Regions from separate parts of the Homo sapiens genome. Here all the other regions are linked to region 1. The links are contacts of gene promoters, found by promoter capture Hi-C in blood cells and fetal thymus (Javierre and others, 2016). All regions are on one chromosome and are shown on one strand. The core of a region is centred on a gene start or on the middle of the fragment in contact, and the rest is flanking DNA. Distances in the headings are between cores, read along the strand shown.

Region 1 (3,568 bases), core at 685-3,184:
GCTATACATCAGATCCAGCACATCTATAACTGGAAAAAAAATACTTGACCTTCAGCTGGGCCCAGAGCTTGTGAGTAGTCACCTTGGCATAGACCAAGTCCATTGGCATCTCTAACATATCTATACTGTCTGTGGATAACAAATGTCTATGCCAGTTAGAGTCGCTTGTATAAGAGTCAAGAAAAACGAATCATAAAACAAACTGACATATTCATTTTCATAATTTTTAAAATGCAAATATTACTTTATAAACCAAAAACTGCCTTATTAAAAGCTGGAACACAAATGAATTTAAGTAAACGATGCAATTCAAATTTAATCTTTTGTGTGTGTGATTTGTTGTTGTTGACAGTTGGTCAGGCGATTTTAGTATGGTACATCAGTTTACATTCTAGATGTAGGCCAAGAAAGAATGTTAGGTGTAAAAAATATTTATTGTAAAAAAGAATGTGAGGCAAGGTCTTTGGAATTAGTAGTTTTAATGTTGGACATTCTGTGGTTGTTCTAAAGTTAGTCTGTAAAATGTGATGTAAAAGCTATATGATAAAAAAATACAAAATATAAAAATTTTAAAGTAAATATTACTTTTGTTTGCGTACAGTATTCCCATCCCTCTAAATTTTCTTCCAGTACTCAATCCCCAACCTCCAAAACCGAAAAGCAAGATCAACAGAAAGAAAATGGTTAAAACTTGTAAATTCTAGATTTTAATAACTACAGGCAAGAAGTACTGAAAAAAAGAATGTGGCATGTCATGGTGCATAGTCCTAGAGGAGACAAAGCAATGCAACCAGATAGACTATTTACAAGCAAAGCCACACATATAAAAATTCATATATAAGGGATTAAATTATGCTTGGTCGACAGACTGACAGATTTAAAGTGGGTAGCTAGCTATGGATAAAATGAGAGCCAGTTAGATCCCTGCCTCACATTTTGCACCAGAATAAATTTCAGGTTAATGTTAACAGCCAAATGAATTTAACAGTATATATATATATATATATATATATAATATATGAGAAAACCTAGGGGACTATGTATTGAGCTGAGAAAATCTTCCTAAGCATTTTGAGGAAGACACTGGAACTCGCAAGACACAATTTTCTAATCTTTTCAAAGCTTTGCAAAAATGCCTAGTAAGCGCCAGTTAACTACTTACCAGATTTTTCCCTTACTCTTACAAAGTTGTTTAAACAAATGCTAATCATAGCAAGCTAGAGGCCTGAATGATAGTGGACTTACACAGCTTCTCTCCAAATAGCACCTTAATAAGGTCAGAAATAACCTACACTGCAAGACTGACCAAACCGTTATTTCTGTTAATCAACTTTAAGACCATAGTCTAATGCTTTCCGGGGGGGTCCTTAGAAATTTGTTCTGTTAAGACAACAAAAAATTATCACAGCTACTTTCGTTGGAATAAGTGGGTGGCTCTGAAAAGAGCCTTTGGGTTTTAAGACTGATGAAAAAGTGACTTTACATTTACGCTCTTTCTCCGCGAATGCGGCGAGCGAGCTGGATGTCTTTGGGCATAATAGTCACTCGCTTAGCATGGATGGCGCAAAGGTTTGTGTCCTCAAAGAGCCCTACCAAGTAGGCCTCACAAGCCTCCTGCAGCGCCATCACCGCAGAGCTCTGGAAGCGAAGATCGGTCTTGAAGTCTTGGGCGATTTCTCGCACCAGGCGCTGGAACGGCAGCTTCCGAATCAGCAACTCGGTCGACTTTTGGTAGCGGCGGATCTCGCGCAGAGCCACAGTGCCCGGGCGGTAACGGTGAGGCTTTTTCACGCCGCCGGTAGCCGGCGCGCTCTTGCGAGCAGCCTTGGTAGCCAGCTGCTTGCGTGGCGCTTTACCGCCGGTGGATTTCCGAGCTGTCTGTTTAGTACGAGCCATGGCAAAACCACAGAAAAGCTTGCCTGCAGAGACGTCTGTGGAGGAAAGGAAAGAGCTACTCTTCTTTTATAGAGTCAGACCACCAACTATTGGACCCAAGAAAATTCAAAAATCCCCGCGCCCTTCTTGGATTGGTCCATCTCTGTGCCTGGTTGCAGATTAAGAGAGGCTCCTGCCCATTACCGTAGCTACTCTGACGTCATTTTGTTAACCCCTTAGCTGCTATATCCACTGTGGACAAGTCTTGTACTGGAAAAGTTTCCTGAAGTCTTAAAATTTACAACCACACAAAGCAACGCGGAAACCTCCAATTGTTTCTAGTTAAAATATAAAAAAGAAATCAGAGAATATTGGAGACGATTAGGGAAATTTGCATATGCGCTTTATTTAAAATTGTATTTTTCTGGGTGTCGCATAAGAAGTGTGGGCAATTAGAAAAATGCTCTTAGCCGGGCGTGGCGGCTCTCGCCTGTAATCCCAGCTACTCAGAAGGCTGTCAAGAGGATCGCTTGAGCCCGAGTTCGAGGTTACAGTGAGCTGTTATCACGCCGCTGCACTGCAGCTTGGGCGAGAGGGAGACTCCACCCCAAAACAAAGCAAAACATCCCCAAACTGGAAAAAAGCTCATTTTGGGAAATACATACTCAAATGTTCAGTGGTAATGTGTGTGCTCTCAATTGTGTATGCCATTAATTGCTACAGCAAATGGTATGACATATTCAAACTTGTGTGGGGCATGCGGGTTTTAACACTTCCATTCAAGATAGTTAGGAATGCACTCATGGGTATAATTTCCTTCCTCTAAAATGTAGTAACTGCTGTGTGTGAAACTTAACGCGAATCACCCCTGTAAACATGTTTTGTGCTGCATGGCACTTCTCCCACATACCTAGAATTCCTGAGGTTTCTATGGATCTAATTTCTGCAGGACAAATTACTAAAAGTGCCACACTCAAAGCCATTAAAAACACCTCAAAAACATCTTTATGGGCGGCATAATCCAAAGCACAACAGCTCATTTAATGGAAGTCGTAGGTGGCTCTGAAAAGAGCCTTTGCTGTTAGGCTGATTTTGTCTGCTGACAGAAAAACAGCAGTGCATGAAGCGTTAACTCTTCACTTTCCCTTGGCCTTATGATGGCTCTCAGTTTTCTTAGGCAGCAGCACCGCCTGAATATTAGGCAAAACGCCACCCTGCGCGATGGTCACACGCCCCAAGAGTTTATTAAGCTCCTCGTCATTGCGGATGGCCAATTGCAGGTGGCGCGGGATGATGCGGGTCTTCTTGTTGTCGCGGGCCGCATTGCCCGCCAGCTCCAGGATCTCGGCGGTCAGGTACTCAAGCACCGCCGCGAGATACACCGGCGCGCCAGCCCCGACGCGCTCGGAGTAGTTGCCTTTGCGGAGCAGGCGGTGCACTCGGCCCACAGGAAACTGCAAACCTGCACGAGAAGACCGAGTCTTAGCCTTGGCGCGAGCTTTACCGCCTTGTTTGCCGCGACCAGACATAACTACTTCTGATAAGGGAAAATCGCCACAAGAAAATGTAATGAAACTACATTAGAACGCAAGGCAGAGAAGTATTTATACTGACTGGAGGTAGGCTGTGAGGAATTCTCCCATTGGCTAATGTCAAATACCCAATGGGAAATCAGAATCTGCATCCTTCATTT
Region 2 (3,568 bases), core at 611-3,110, 1.1 Mb after region 1:
GAAATGTAAAAGATCAGTTTAAGTGGAGTGTTGAAGAAGAAAGCAAGATGAAGGAGTGTAATAAAGAAATGAGATGAAAGAAGATTTGGGTTTGATGACACTTCAAGGAAATATGGCTATAAACTGAAAGACAGTACTATCAATAGCAGAAAGGAAAAGTGAAAGCAAGAGAACAATTCTTTCAGATGAAAGAAATAAAAGCAGCTTTGAATGCTGATGCGAAAGATCCTATAGAGATCAAATAGAATTTTATTTAATAATACAGGAGAAAGAGGAAAATATTGCTGGAACTATGCCCTTGAAAGAAAGAGGGCTTTTAATTATTTCTTACAGAAAATTTAGAAATTCAGAAGTAGAAGAGTGCATGGCATTGGTAAAGGTAGAACTGGTAGGTTCAACTGTGCCAGCCTGTCTCTTATTCTTCCCAGAATCACTGTAGTGAATGTGTCAGATGAAATCTTCAAAATGGCCTTCCAAAATAAGCACAAGGAAAGAGGCCTTTTTCTAGGCCTATGACATCAAAGATACAGCTTTTCCCTCTTTTTATGGAGAAGCACATGCAGATCAACCCAATTTCCAAAAACATCCCAGCAGAAAATGCTGAAAAGCACTTTCATTCACAGCAGCTTTCTAAATGGGGTTGGGGAAGGCCCTAAGCAAAGGAAAAGGAAAGATCTAACTCAAAGAGACTTGAGACAGAGGCAGCTTGCATTTCCTTCTTACTGGCTGCATTTTCTTTGATGGAGCTCATGTCTTTGAGACTGAGAAAGCCCTTAGGTCACTTCCCTGATCAAACAAATTAATGTTAGGGCTGGGTGCGGTGGCTCATGCCTGTAATCCCAGCACTTTGGGTGGCGGAGGTGGGCGGATCATAAGGTCAGGAGATCGAGATCATCCTGTCTGAAACAGTGAAAACCCGTCTCTACTAAAAATACAAAAAATTAGCCAGTCGTGGTGTCACGCGCCTGTAGTCCCAGCTGCTCAAGAGGCTGAGGCAGGAGAATCACTTGAACCCAGGAGGCGGAGGTTGCAGTGAGCCAAGATCGCACCACTGCCCTCCAGCCTGGGCGACAGAGCGAGACTCCATCTCAAAAAATAAAATAAAATAAAATAATAATAATAATAATAATAATAATAATAATAATAACAATGATGCTAGGAAACAGGTAATTCTTCATTCAGTAAACCTATTAGTAATTAGAATACTTTTGTGTAATCCAGACAGAGGAAAGGAGATAAAGAAAATTTTAGGAAATTAAGCACATTATTTTGGCTCTGCTGAGAAGCTTTATTATGGATAGCTGCAGGGGTAATTTTGAACTCCCTTCATTTTTAAATTTATTATTATTATTTTAGAGGGAGGATCTTGCTCTGTAGCCCAGGCTGCAGTGCAGAGGCACAATCATAGCTCACTGCAACCTCAAACTCCTGGATTCAAGTGATCCTCCTGCCTCAGCCTCCCTTGTAATGGGGACTACAGGCATGCACCTCTGTGCCTGGTTAAATTTTTTTATTTTTTTTGTAGAGACAGGGTCTCACTATGTTGCCCAAACTTGATTCAAATTCATGGCCTCAAGCAATACTCCTGTCTTGACCTCCCAACCTTTCTTTAAATTATTACCAATCTTTTCCCATCAAAGGTCAAAAGGCAAGCCTGCTGAACTAGGCCAGATGCTGCTGGGAGAAGTTGCTTTCATAGAGCTTTGGATGGTAGTCTCTGCCCACCCATTCATTCATTCTGCAGCCAAACTATATTGATAAAGAACCTACCAAATGGGGAGCCCTAGTGATAGATTATTGAACAAAATAGATATTCCTCGTCTTGGGGCATATGGAGCGGGAGGATGGAGGCTGACATTAATCAAATAACTCTGGTATTATACATTACAAACTGATATAAGAGCACTAAAGGAAAAGTGAAAAAGAATCAAGTGGCCGGGCATGATGGCTCACGCCTGTAATCCCAGCACTTTGGGAGCCCGAGGCGGGTGGATCACTTGAAGTCAGGAGTTATAGATCAGCCTGGCCAACATGGTGAAACCCCCTCTCTAATAAAAATACAAAAATTAGCCCTGCGTAGTAGCTTACGCCTGTAATCCCAGCTACTCGGGAGGCTGAGGCAGGAGAATCGCTTGAACCCGGGAGGTGGAGGTTGCAATGAGTCGAGATTGTGTCATTGCCCTCCAGCCTGGGCAACAGAGCGAGACTCTGAGAAAAAAAAAAAGAAGAAGAAAGAGAAAGAAAGAAAGAAAAGGAAGGAAGGAAGAAAGAGAATGAGAGAGAGAGAAAGAAAGAAGGAAGGAAAGAAGAAAAGAAAAGAAAGAGAGAGGGAAGGAGGGAGGGAGAGAGGAAGGAAGGAAGGAGGGAAAGAAGGGAGGGAAGGAAAAAAAAAAAACCAAGGAACCATGTGTTGCGTGGAGACGGGAGGTCAAGAAAAGCTTCCTTGATTTGAAAAGCTTTCTTGAGTTGAAGCTGAAGCATTAAACAAATTTAACCAGGTAAAGAGAAGAGGCCGGGCGCGGTGGCTCACTCCTGTAATCCTAGCGCTTTGGGAAGCCGAGAGGGGCGGATCAGTTGAGTTCAGGAGTTTAAGACCAGAATGATTTTACAGAAAGAAAATCATTTGGTATCAAGGGGAAAACACGACCAGGACCTTGACTCTAGAGGCTACGTTCCTAAAACAGCAAGCGGGGCAGGAGGGAAGTCCCACGGAGCTTTGGAGCCACAGGAGAGGCACTTTTATCTCCCTCTTCTGGCAAACTAGGTATGAAAGGGAGAAAGAAATTTCACTCTGAGGTGCGAGCGCCGCCGGACATTTCCTGACGGCTCAGGTGGGCAGGCTGAGTGCGCGAGCGCCTCACTGGCTTCTCATAGGTACCTGGGTCAGGACGAAGCCACATAGTTCCTCGTGATGAGAAACTCACTTCTGGCACCTGTCGAGATGCCAGATTCCATGCCAAGCCCCCGAAGATTCTGACTAGTTTGGCAAAAAATGGGATCTGGCAGGTCCACTTCAAAGCAGCGCCCTCTTCCTTTTGTTGCCAAAGATCTGAGGACCACACTGCTAAACTGAGCAAGAAACATGCGTGGGTTGGAGATAGAAGTGAGAATAATGAGTTTACAAGCACAGTATTACCAACCCCCAAAAACAACCACCACGCTGGGAAAATTCCATATAATGAAACTTAATGTGTTACCTTTGGCTTCTTTGCCATAAGCAAAATATTGGGGACGGGGAGTGGATAAGGAAGTAAACTGGGTAGGTGTGTAAATAAGGACGAAAGACTGCACCATTCTTTAGATGACAAAAACAGACGTTTCTGGGAAATAAGCAAAGGAAGAGCCCCACAAGCAGCGGCCTCTGGTGGCGTGCCGTGATCGTATAGTGGTTAGTACTCTGCGTTGTGGCCGCAGCAACCTCGGTTCGAATCCGAGTCACGGCAGTACCTTGATGTCGCCTCAATTTCTCAACGTACTGAGCAGTACCTTGACGTCGCCTCAATTTTTCAACATACTGGAGTGGAGACAGTCTCGGAAAAACCCTTGCAAAATTGAATTGACTTACGAT
Region 3 (3,568 bases), core at 789-3,288, 1.1 Mb after region 1:
AAGAATGTGAGAACTCAGAGTTACTCTATTTGAACTAAGTTTATCTTGATAGTCAGTTATCCTGTTAGAAAACAGACTGATTAGCATAACATTTTTTTAAAATGTTATACTGCGTGTATGTTTACTATTTCAGAACTAAATTTACCGTCAATTTCAGAAACTAAAGAGTCTGACAAACTCAAATATCCTTGTAGGGGAGGCAAAATTTTACCTCTGTCCTCTTAAGAGTTTTTATGGCTGGCCTGATAATTAAACTGACATAAGATTAAGAGGAGAAAACCATATAAATTTAATATAAATTTTATGTGGCATGGGACATGGGAGCTCTAATAATAGACCCCAAAGAAGTAGCAAAACCTAAATGCTTTTATAGTAGGTTGAATGGAGTAAATTGTGGAAATGTAACTATGTAGGAAGGCTAAAGGAAAACAAGAATTATTTTAAGATCTGCTTGGACAGAATTCTCTTGGTTTCAACTTCCTGTCCTTGATGAAAATGTTCTTTTCCTTTTGGTACAGGGAGGACATCTTCCACAGGGGAATTTTAATTCCTGCTTTTAAGGGGGTAAAAGGGAACGGTCAAAGTGCCTTTCTTGTACCTACTCTTTTTAAAATTGCCTGTATCTCAGAATAATTCTTATTCCAAAATGGCATATTTTGGGATGGCATGCTCTGCCACCTTTTACCATTCATTGCTATCCTTGTCACTAATTGCTATGCGAAAACTCATGAAATCAGATACAGAAAAAGGCTTCTGATTAGTGAGAAGCTCAAGTAGAGAAATATACTTGTTAACTAATGTTGGGGAAATACAATTTTAAAATCTTCTCCCAAAGAAGACAAAGGAAATAATTTTATTATTGAATAAGCATTAAACCAGGGAGAGTTGCTTATCACAGGAAACCTTATGAAGAGGTTGCAAAAGCAGAAAGAAATCTTGCTTATTATGTATGGCTACATTGGATAGGTTTTGCAATTCGAAGTCAGGTGACAGCTAAAGTTCAGCCCATTTTCTCGCTGGAAACTGGGAGACAGACCACTATCTTTTTTAATGATTAACATTTCAAAGGGATGGCTCTCCAGGCATTGAGAAAATATTCTGAGTTATAAGGCCTATTTAGCCATTAAAAGGATTTACATACATTTTAAAAGGACAGAGAAAGACATTTTGAAAGTGATGGGAAAGGAAAGGGAAGTCTTTTGTTTTCAACAGATAATTAAGCCTCTCATTTTTAATTTGTATTTACCCTTAGATTAACGTATTCAATTAACCTATGCTACCTTACCCTCTTTACAACATATACTGAATTCAGCTACAGCAAGTTACAGCCAGTCATATCAATTTTTTTTTGTTTTCCAAAGGTGTATGGCAAGTTTTCTTTTATTGCAACATAAATGCAAAAATTTCTAAAGTATTTTAATGAAAAGTTTATCTTCATTTACTTTATGACATTTAAGTGGAATACTTTGAAAATACTTCAAGCACTGCTGTAAGGTACTCATTAAAATAAAGAGTAGCAAGAAAATCACCAAATGGGCCGGGTGCGGTGGCTCATATATTCAGTATATGATAATAAGTTCCTCAAATCAGTGGGGGAAATAGTTAATGTATTGTGCTGACTAACCAACTGATTAACTTTTTGAAAAGTTATTTCTATATACAAGAAATCAAGTCCTTATTAGTAAAGTTAGATTACTTTAAATGGTTCTACCCAGCATTAGTTAAGGTTGTAGGCATATCAGGAACTGCTACTGGTGCAGGGGCCAAGAGAAAACCTCCCTTTTGGCCTCTGAAAGTTCACTGAAAATCAACTGACAAGATTAATAAGAGAAAAGGCATACAAATTTATTAAGGTACAGGGCTGAGGACCACAGAATATTACCCCAACCCCCCAGTGGGGTACAGAAGCTTATATACTCTTTCTCAGAGGCAAAAGAGGAGATGGGTAATGTAGACAATTCTTTGAGGAACAGTAAATGATTATTAGAGAGAAGGAATGGACCAAGGAGACAGAAATTAACTTGTAAATGATTCTCTTTGGAATCTGAATGAGATCAAGAGGCCAGCTTTAGCTTGTGGAAAAGTCCATCTAGGTATGGTTGCATTCTCGTCTTCTTTTCTGCAGTAGATAATGAGGTAACCGAAGGCAATTGTGCTTCTTTTGATAAGAAGCTTTCTTGGTCATATCAGGAAATTCCAGAGAAAGTCCCTCCCTGTATTTGGGGAAGAGAAACAGGACAAAGTTAGAGGGACCTTGATTCTTAGACTTGTTTCTGAGAACCCTCAATTTTCAAAAACACCCACCATTACCAAGCTCGATATTTGGGGGGATAATTCTCCACCCCAAACACTAGAAATGAAAATAAGTAGAAAAGAACTTAGCAATATACCTGAACGATCTTTAAATTCTATGAGTCTATCTTGTTCTATTGCTAGGAATTTAGCATATGGAGTATATTTCCATTGTATATTAAGGAGAAAAATGCCACAAAATAGCATAGTTCCATACAAATAATGTTAAAGGAAAACATGCATATATGCAGAGATAACATTCTTTTTGCTTTATGTATCTTCTATAATGTTAACATTTTTGTTATGAGGCAGGAATCATGTTAAATGAAAAAAGGAAAAACAGCCTAGGTCTTGAGGATTAAAAAGGACTGAAGGAGAACAAGAGGGAGTAGAGCACAGCAGGCCTGTTTCCCTTTTAGGTCCCCTCCCCCAATGCAGAGGGACTTCCCGCCAAAGCTCTTCCGGTTTTCAGTCTGGTCCGCAGAGGTTACCCATAAAAGAAAGCTGCCATCACAGGCAGCAGACCTTTGTTCTCTGACCACTTGATAATGTCAGGACGCGGCAAAGGAGGTAAGGGCCTGGGGAAAGGGGGTGCCAAGCGCCACCGCAAGGTGCTGCGCGACAACATCCAGGGTATCACCAAGCCAGCCATTCGGCGCCTTGCTCGCCGCGGCGGCGTGAAGCGCATTTCTGGCCTCATCTATGAGGAGACCCGCGGAGTGTTGAAGGTGTTCCTGGAGAACGTGATCCGGGACGCCGTGACCTACACGGAGCACGCCAAGCGCAAGACGGTCACCGCCATGGACGTGGTCTACGCGCTCAAGCGCCAGGGCCGCACCCTCTATGGCTTCGGCGGCTAAATGGCATTTTGAAGCCCAGTCATTCTCTAAAAAGGCCCTTTTTAGGGCCCCTAAGCTTTCAACAAAAGAGTTGAAATGACTGCAAACTGAGTCTCTTAATAGGGCCATTGTCAGTGAGTTCTGTCATCCTATTTTACAAGATTAACTCGACGCCGAAAATGGGCTGATGACTACAGGTGACCTTGGGCCGAGATTTTTCCAAGGCCAGAAGAGCCTCTGCTGGCCAGTAACTTCTGGCGGCTGCCTGGAAATTGCCTGCAGCCGGTTTACCGCTCGGATTAGTTTAGAAAGCCAAGGGGTCTGCGGTCCAAATAGGGGCGGGCTAGATAATTAACTTCCCTCTGGACCTTCAAATACGTCTCAGGAGATAATGAGTTTGATGGGCTCCACTAAATGCTAGAACCTCCAGGAAAACT

Evidence for each region. The method cuts DNA at HindIII sites, captures the fragments that hold promoters and counts their contacts. A CHiCAGO score of 5 or more calls a contact.
Region 2: a fragment that was not itself captured here is called in contact with the fragment with the promoter of H3C2 in region 1 in 11 of 17 cell types (activated CD4 T cells, non-activated CD4 T cells, total CD4 T cells and 8 more); the score reaches 16.1 in activated CD4 T cells.
Region 3: a fragment that was not itself captured here is called in contact with the fragment with the promoter of H3C2 in region 1 in 14 of 17 cell types (erythroblasts, naive B cells, fetal thymus and 11 more); the score reaches 18.6 in erythroblasts.

The regions. Positions count from the first base shown.
Region 1 is chr6:26,030,165-26,033,732 of GRCh38, forward strand. H3C2 (H3 clustered histone 2) reads right to left here and starts at 1,935. Exons shown (of 1, transcript NM_003537.4): 1 at 1,425-1,935. The coding sequence starts at 1,896. The coding sequence ends at 1,486. H2AC4 (H2A clustered histone 4) reads right to left here and starts at 3,454. Exons shown (of 1, transcript NM_003513.3): 1 at 2,928-3,454. The coding sequence starts at 3,404. The coding sequence ends at 3,012. RefSeq lists enhancers at 1,572-1,801, 1,842-1,961, 2,899-3,528 and a silencer at 3,312-3,411. The HindIII fragment of the contact is 2,287 bases long and covers 1,913-3,568 here.
Region 2 is chr6:27,154,756-27,158,323 of GRCh38, forward strand. TRH-GTG1-5 (tRNA-His (anticodon GTG) 1-5) reads left to right here and starts at 3,372; the gene lies at 3,372-3,443. RefSeq lists a silencer at 3,483-3,532. The HindIII fragment of the contact is 1,152 bases long and covers 1,285-2,436 here.
Region 3 is chr6:27,136,469-27,140,036 of GRCh38, forward strand. It overlaps H4C9 (H4 clustered histone 9), which reads left to right and starts at 2,814. Exons shown (of 1, transcript NM_003495.3): 1 at 2,814-3,210. The coding sequence starts at 2,841. The coding sequence ends at 3,152. It also overlaps a transcript of H2BC12 not described here. RefSeq lists enhancers at 2,628-3,007, 2,770-3,362, 3,363-3,568. The HindIII fragment of the contact is 264 bases long and covers 1,907-2,170 here.